Linked DNA regions of Homo sapiens: region 1 is linked to region 2. The links are contacts of gene promoters, found by promoter capture Hi-C in blood cells and fetal thymus (Javierre and others, 2016). All regions are on one chromosome and are shown on one strand. Each heading gives the region's core, a stretch centred on a gene start or on the middle of the fragment in contact. The rest is flanking DNA. Distances are from core to core; before and after follow the strand shown. Region 1 has its middle 16 kb from the start of CCDC32. Region 2 holds the start of C15orf62 (chromosome 15 open reading frame 62).

Evidence for each region. Contacts are between HindIII fragments. The CHiCAGO score rates a contact against its expected background, and 5 or more counts as called.
Region 1: a contact is called between a fragment that was not itself captured here and the fragment with the promoter of C15orf62 in region 2, in 2 of 17 cell types (naive B cells and total B cells). The highest score is 6.6, in naive B cells.

The regions. Positions count from the first base shown.
Region 1 is chr15:40,546,851-40,550,671 of GRCh38, forward strand. It overlaps a transcript of CCDC32 not described here. Among named protein-coding and RNA genes, the nearest start is that of CCDC32, 16 kb to the right of the region's middle. The HindIII fragment of the contact is 1,788 bases long and covers 1,590-3,377 here.
Region 2 is chr15:40,767,065-40,771,259 of GRCh38, forward strand. It overlaps C15orf62 (chromosome 15 open reading frame 62), which reads left to right and starts at 2,916. Exons shown (of 1, transcript NM_001130448.3): 1 at 2,916-4,195. The coding sequence starts at 3,432. The coding sequence ends at 3,959. It overlaps DNAJC17 (DnaJ heat shock protein family (Hsp40) member C17), which reads right to left. Exons shown (of 11, transcript NM_018163.3): 11 at 1-998. The coding sequence ends at 876. It overlaps GCHFR (GTP cyclohydrolase I feedback regulator), which reads left to right. Exons shown (of 3, transcript NM_005258.3): 3 at 162-644. The coding sequence ends at 285. RefSeq lists enhancers at 1,577-2,195, 2,814-3,432, 3,386-3,475, 3,433-4,049. The HindIII fragment of the contact is 5,370 bases long and covers 1-4,195 here.

The DNA of each region.
Region 1 (3,821 bases), core at 1,234-3,733, 220 kb before region 2:
ACCACCAACACCTGGCTAATTTTTGTATTTTTAGTAGAGATGGGGTTTCGCCATGTTGACCAGGCTGGTCTGAAACTCCTGACCTCAGGTGATACACCTGTCTCGGCCTCCCAAAGTGCTAGGATTACAAGTGTGAGCCATAGCGCCTGACCTATGTTTTGCAGTTTTTTAACTGAATGCCCATGGTGTATAAAACAGCAGAGACTGAGGTAAATAGTATCTGTATCTGGGAGTGGGGCTGCCTCTTCTGTCAGCCTGTTGGTCTGGGGGGTTGAGTCAGTCTTGTTAGGAATTGGACAGGGTTTGGGTTTGGTTGTGCTCTCATTACCTTCAGTGCACCCCAGGTTTCAAATTCCTCTAGTGGTGGGCTGCTTAGAGTGGGGACTGGGGTGTCAGGGCTTCCTCAGTGCTGCTGTCCCACACTCAGCTTTTCAGCTGGCAGAAGACTTCTGTTGCTTGTGATCTGGTGCCAGGCTCAGGCAGGGCAGGGCAGGGTTGATTCTGTTACCCTGGCCCGGCTTCAGTCTTAAATAGGTCCTAGGCACCCGAGCTTCAGCAGTGGGACTTTCTCAGTGTTTCTGTCCCTCTTCCCTATGGAAGCCAAACTCTGCCTTATATGTGGTTCATCTGGGATTAGCCAAAGTTCTTGCCCTCCCCACAACAGAGTGGACCTTCGCTTGAATCTTCAGCCCAGGACAGTTTCCTGCTTCTGCCCCTGGGTAGGGGGTTTCTGCTTCTAGTCCCAGGAGCAATGGGTCTTTGCCTGTTCAAGAAGGGCAAGAAGGTTTTGACACCTCACCAGAAGCAGATAAGTTTTGCTTTTATTCCTCCCACTGAAGCAAAAGTTTGTTACCCCTCCCGCCATGGCTTAAGGCTTTTGCTTAAAGGAGAGGATTGTGGAAGTTGAGGCTTTTTGCCTTCCACCAGCAGCCGCCTTGATCAACCTCTGCATGCATGCATCACCAAGGAAGAACAGTCCCTCCCTTTCCTGACCTGTTCCCACTTTTCTCCATGAACCCCAGGGGAGGCCTGTACAAAAAAGGTTGCCTTTGCACGCACTCTCGTGTCTAGAATCCTATTCAGCTATTCTAAACTGATATGCTAGGCCACATGTGGACTTTACAAATTTGTTAACATTTTTATTGTCTTTTTCTTACCCACTTGTAAGACAGCCACATCTTTGCCAAAGTTGAAACAGTTGATGGGTCACTATCTCTCCTTCTATTTCCTCTCACTCCTATTCATTTCTATGAACTCAGCTCCCCTAACACTATCTCTCCTTTATTTGGTTGCCTTGTGGCCTTGGCTTTCTGATGGGCTCAAGAAAAGTTATGATTTTGTACCTGCTTTTTCACATTGTTAGGACGGAAGGGACATTTTCTTGCAGTATTCTACATCCTAAGTGGAAAAAGTCCTCAAGTACTATCATCTCTTTCTTAGACAACTGCAACCACCTCACAGCTGGTCTCCTGTGTCCAATTTTGCCCCTCTCCCTACTGTAGCCAGCATAAGTATTAAATTCTGCAACCATCGCAGACTAGAGGGGGCTGCAAAATAAAATACTTAAAAATTAGCTACTTAAAACCTGAAGCTTAGCTTATGGTGCATTGGTTATCTATTGCTGAGTAACAAATCAACCCAAAACTTAGTGGTTTAAACCATGACATTTATTGAATCTGTAGGGCTTTGCAGGGACAGCTTGTCTCTGTACCACTTGGTGTCACCTGGGACAGCTTAAAAACTGGGGGATGAAATCATTTGAATTACTTACTTATATGTCTGATGCCTGGGGTGGGAAGACTCAAACAGCTGGGACTCCCTGGGCTTCTCTACCTCTCTGTGGCCGACTTCTTACATGCCGGCTCAGAACTACCAAGGAGCATGCTGAGAGAGAGAGAGAGAGACCCCAGGTGGAGTGCTTTCATGACCTTGCCTCAGAAGTCCCATTATTTATGCTGTACTCTATTAGCAAGGCAGTTACATAGGTCTGCCCAGGTTCAAAGGGAGGGAATATTGACTGAAGATCTCAGGGGAGGAGTGTCCACATCACACTGGAACATGAATGAGTGGGATGGGATACACTGATTTGGCCATCTTTGGAAAATACAATCTGCCATACATGATTCTACTTGTTCTGTAATAGTGAAAAAATAACAAGAAAAATTGAAGTAGAAAATAAAAACAAAGAAAAACCATTTCACATAGACATGTATCGCTGCCAAGTGTGAATAACTTGTCCACCCTCAATCACTTTAATTATGGCAAACCCATGGCAGCCATAACCTTCTAGATGTAAATCTCATCTTGTCACTGCCCCTCTTAAAATCAGCCATTAGCTCCCTGTTCTCCCACAATAAACTCCAAACTCCTTAACATGGTTTATAAAATCCTTCACACCTGGCCTTGTTTAGTAATTTCCACCCTCACCTCTCGTCTGTCCCTCCTTTGTTCTTTGTGCTCCAGCTACACTGAACTACCTTCCATCCTCCAAGTTCCCTTTTGCTTTTAGGGCTTTGCACATGCTGTTTTCCTCTTCCAGGACTCCTCTTGGTCCCCATGCTCTTACTCTTCTATTTCCTCTCACTCCTATTCATTTCTATGGACTCAGCTCCCCTAACACGGCCTCTCTCCTACCCCACTCCAACTGGTCTAGGGCTCTCATATCTCCTTCCCATGTGCTCTCAAAGCACCTTGTGCTTACAACTTCCACAGAATTAATGAGGTAGGCTCTACTCCCCCCTCCATCATTCTATGTGGGAAGATGCCGTTCTGCTTTATTTAACACCATGCACCATGCCTGGAACATGGCAGGGGCTCAACAAATATTGGTTAGATGAATGAATCTCTGCCTTAAATAACCTATTTCTGGGCTCAAGTAAACAGCCCTCGCACAAACCTAACATCCCAATGGCAGTATCCTATCTTGAGTCTTATAACTGACGTAGGGCCAAAGCTGGTTGGGATAATTTAGAATTTTCAAGAAAACCTTGCCTGCTTCATGTGGCTGGGGCTGTTCTCAGCCTTGGAGGACTCCTTCCAAAACAGGGCCAGGGAGAGGCTCCAGGGCTTCCGTCTTCCAGCAATGGTCCTGGTGGGCAGGTCTGCTTGGAAGGGTGCACCTCGGCCACAGCTGGCGGGACGTTTGTTTACTTGCTGTGCCTGCAGCCAGGGCCTATTTCTGGATCAGGTATTGGATGCATGCCTGTGTCACTCCAGCCCTGATCTTGCCAGGCGCTGAGTGATGAGCACGTGTGTGTGCCGGGAGAGAACAGCAGCAGTCCCTTAGGTTATCTGCCTGGCTGCAGCCCAGCCTTCTCTGGGTGTACCAAGTCATTACGGCTTGGCCCGTGTTGGTGATTACCCTCCCCTGGCTCTAAAGCTTTAGCACTAAATATTGCTCCATTTGCTCTAACTTGCTGTCTATTTCACTAAGGAGGAAGAAGGAAGAAAGTCAGGGGTGATAAGTAAGATTCTACCAACTTACAAATCTTACTAGGTTGAGGAAGCCCTAACTGGAGTTCCTTGGAGTTTTCAGGGTCAAAGGAAAGAGATCAGCATTTTAGGCCAATACTATTTTTTCCTATGGTTAGTCCCATTACTGAAAAGGAACTGGAACATGAAGAGGTCACTTGACTTATTTGTGACCATTCAGTAAGCCACAAGACAGATAAAAGACAGCACCCAAGACTCTCAGTTTCAAATTTAGTGCCACTTCACTAGCCTAAGATAAATCTGTATTAACAAGTTAGCTTTGGGAGCTAGTGTCAAATTTGGTTTTGGTAAATGGAGTTTCACCTTTTTTTAGAGCCATTGTTTACGCT
Region 2 (4,195 bases), core at 1,666-4,165:
GGGGAGGAGGCAGGGGGCGTGCACTTACCCCAGCGCCCAGCAAGCAGCCAGCAAGTGTGAGTCACTACAAGAGTGGCCAGGCTGCCTGCTGCAGACACTAGCTTTGTACCAGGAGCTTGCTGTGTGCCCCTCCTCACCCCCCCCATCCTGTCTCTTTGCAGTTATGAATACTACGTCGATGACCCTCCCCGCATAGTCCTGGACAAGCTGGAACGCAGGGGCTTCCGTGTGCTGAGCATGACGGGGGTGGGCCAGACGCTGGTGTGGTGTCTGCACAAGGAGTGACCTTCTCATGCTGATTTGCAGACGGGGCACCCCTGTGGAGGGGCTGCTGTGGGCCCTGACCTCCAAGCTCCTGCCTCACCGTCTGCCTTGCTCCTCTCTTCCCAAATCATCACCGCCATGGGCCCAGCCCCAAAGGGCAGTGAATGGCCTTCTCTGAAACCCTGCGTCAAGCAGTGGGAGAGGGCAGTGCCCGGTGCCCTGGTGCTCCCAGCTGCCCTCCTGCTTCGGGCCTGGGCCGAGGGCCTTGTGTAGGCCATGTTCCTCGGGCAGCTGCCCCGGGCCGGAGCTGGGCACTCCAGCGGCCCTGGCGCGTGGCTCCTGCATAGCTAGCCCAAGCCAATAAAGGGCTGTGATGAGTGGCTGCGCCTGTGCTCTGCTTGTGCACGGACTCTGGGACTCTCACCCTGCGGAGCGTTTCCCTGGGGGTCTGCCCACTTCCTGGGAGGGGCGCCAGGCCTGGGTGGAGCGCTCTGCGGCAGAGCCCAGCACCTTATACCTATGTATGGGATAGAGGTAAAATCTTAAAAAAAAAAAAAATTTATTGGTGACGTTGAAGAAAAGGGCTGAGGGGTGGATGGCTGGAGCTGGGGCTACGTAGGCGGCCCCTCCTGGTCTTCCTGCTGCATCCGTGCGATCAGCTGTTGCCGCTCGGCCGCCTGGCGCATGCGCATCATGACGAGGCTCTCGTAGTCCCTCTCTGACAGCACTGAGCCCTGTCGGACAGGGCAGGGACAGGGAGGGGTCAGGGACAGCAGGGCACAGCCTCACAGACTCCGAGTACGGTGCCGAGGCAGTGCTGCGTTCTAAGAGTCTCGGAGGGAGGACGGCAGAGGAAGGGAAGGAACCCGGAGCATCCTTTTGGAATCCTGGCTCGCCTGTGTCCCCCAGAACACGCCACCTTTGGCCTCCAGGCCGGCTTCTACCCAGCCAGCTCCCCCTCCCTTTCCCCAGGCCGCGTCAGCTCCGGTCCATCTGTTTCTCAGGAATCACCTGCGGGCCCTCTAAGCCAGGCCCTCGTCTCCCTTCATTTCCTCTGGGCCCTTTACCCTTCACCCCTTTCCCTCTACCCCGTAGCTTCTGCCTCTTAGGTTCCCAAGGAAGGGAAGTTGTCTGAGGAGCAGGGATGCACTTGGCTCTGCTGGGCACTGACCCTGGCACTCTCTATGCCCGGTGCCCTGTGGTCTGGCTCTTGCTGAGGATGCAGAAGGGAGCCCTACCCGAGGCAGCCCGGAATGCCCCACCCTCGAAGGGGAAAAAGGCAAGCATGAGGCCAGCGTGCCTCTAAAACTACACACCAGGGCTCCTGGAGGGCAGGGCCCATAATCAAAAGAATAATAAACAACCATCTGAATGGGCCAAGGCTGTAGGGTGGAGAAGCAGCTCTACAGCGGGACCTAAGCTGCCAACCCACGCCCTGATAAGGTCTGCGGTGGGAATTAAACCTTTTCCTCCCTCGGTGCCGCTTAGGCTGTGTGATGATCATGTGGTCCCAACAGCTTCTCAGAGAAGTGTGAAGCACACCTGAGTTGGCACAGAAGTGAGCTAGGCCAGGGATTGCAAGATGCGGTGGCCTGCCCGTAGCAGAGAGCTGTGGGGCCCTGATCCGCGGTACCCCGCATGGGGACGCTGTCACAGAGCAAGGCAGGAGGAAAATGTGGTGGTCAGTGACCCGGGGAATAGGAAGGGAGCAGCTAGGGTTGAGATGCCAGGCCCTGGCCAGCAGGTTTGGAGTAAGGGGTGTAGAGAAACAGGAAGTGTTACTCAGCCTGGGTTCCCCTGTTCCTCCCGATGGCTGCACCCCTCCCCTCTCCCCGGCTGCAGCAGTCCCAGCTAGGCCGGACTGCTAAGCCTGGCCCAGAGCACGGCTGACAATTCACGGCAGCCTCCCTGGCCCAGCCTCCTGCAAGAGAAGGAGGACCCCAGAGGAAGCCCGGTAGCCAGAGGGGAAGGGCTGGAGCACAGCCAGGTAGGAGGCAACACGGCCCGGCCTTCAGCAGCCGCTCTCCTGGCAGGAGCCCTCTAGGGTAAAACAAGGGAGGACAAGGAAATAGCAGCCAGGCTGATGGCAGGCCAAGAGGAGGCCACATCTCCCATCCCCAGGTTAATGCTGCTCTGCCAAGAAAACTTGGAGCCACCCTTGGCGGGCCCCCAGCCCAACCCTGGGCAGCAGAGCCCGCCCATCACAGGCATGGCGCTGCTCCCCATTAACACACCCTCTGCCCCCCTTCCTGTTCCTGCTCGTGAGGGCCTGACAGCGGGGCTGAGTCACCCATACCAGCTACAGGTCTCTTCCTTCCCCAACAATCGTTCCACACGCCTGCCTTTCAATTAACTCCCACCCGCCCCGAACTCTTCCTACCCAGACACTGTGGGCAGGGAGCCAGGCGCACCTGCTGGGGGCCCAGGGTGGTGGGGCTGTGATCAGAAAGGAAGCCGCGTGGTGACACATAAAGCAGGGCTGCCCCCACACGAGTCCCCAGAGGAATCTTAAGCTCCCCATTGCCCTGGGGTGTTGGTCCCAGCTGCCCCATCCCTGCACGCGGATGCTGCAATTACCCAAGAGCACGAAACCTGGCTTCCCACCTGACTGAGTCAGCTGAGAACAAAAACACATCTCCACCGCCACAAACAGCCAGGCCACTCATCAGAGTCCGGGAGCCACTGGCAGAGAGGGCACGGCCCCACACTGCCCCAGAGACATATAGGAGCCAGGCAAACACCAGGGCGAGTGAGCTCGGGCCATCTGCTGCCTGCCTGTGGAAGGAGCGCTCGCCAGCCTCACCCAGCCCGAGAAGGTCCACCTCTGCCTCCGCCGGAGCTGCCCTCATTCTGGCTCCAGTAAGTGCTGCTTCTTCCTCCTGGGTTTTTTTCCACTACCCTATTCAGTAACCAGGCCACTCCTGTCCCTGTGGGAAACTCTTGCTGCCAGGAACTCCCAGCTGTCTGCTCTCCTGGGCAAAAAAGTTCCTTCTTCCTGAGCCCTCCTCTCACCATCCAAGATGTGGTCAAAGGTCTGTGCTGAGTGGAAACCCTGAGGCCTCTGCTCCTAGGGGAGCCTCCCCAGCTGCTGGCACTCACTGCCCCAGCAGGGACCACATGCACCCTGGCTGCTCCTGAACACCTGTCTGCTGGCTCCCCTGGGCCCCATGGAGACCTGGCGGAAAGGCTCCTTCCGCAACGCCTCCTTCTTCAAGCAGCTGAGCCTGGGGCGGCCACGGCGGCTCCGGCGACAGAGTAGTGTGCTTAGCCAGGCCAGCACAGCAGGTGGGGACCACGAGGAGTACAGCAACCGAGAAGTCATCCGGGAGCTACAAGGGAGGCCAGATGGCCGGCGCCTGCCACTGTGGGGGGACGAGCAGCCCCGGGCCACCCTGCTGGCCCCACCCAAGCCCCCACGCCTCTACCGAGAGAGCTCAAGCTGCCCCAACATCCTGGAGCCCCCACCTGCCTACACAGCAGCCTACTCTGCCACCCTGCCATCGGCGCTCTCTCTGTCGAGTGCCCTCCACCAGCACTCAGAGAAGGGCCTTGTGGACACTCCCTGCTTCCAGAGGACACCTACCCCAGACCTCAGTGATCCCTTCCTCTCCTTCAAAGTGGACCTGGGGATTTCACTTCTTGAGGAAGTTCTGCAGATGCTAAGGGAGCAGTTTCCTAGCGAGCCCAGCTTCTAAATGGGGTGAGGGTGGGCAAAGCCGGGGTGACTGGAAGATCCAGAGGCTGGGGATTAAGGAAAGGACAGGGACAGGACTCCAGGCCCATCGCTGGAGGGTTCAGGCAGGCAGAGCTTCTTCATCCTGGGGGAGGATTCCAGGATAGGAATCCAGGGCTCTGCCTGCTCTCTGGGTCCTGGACAGTCCTTCCAGGCACCCCAGAGTGGAGGGACAGAGGCAATCTGGAAATGTTGGGG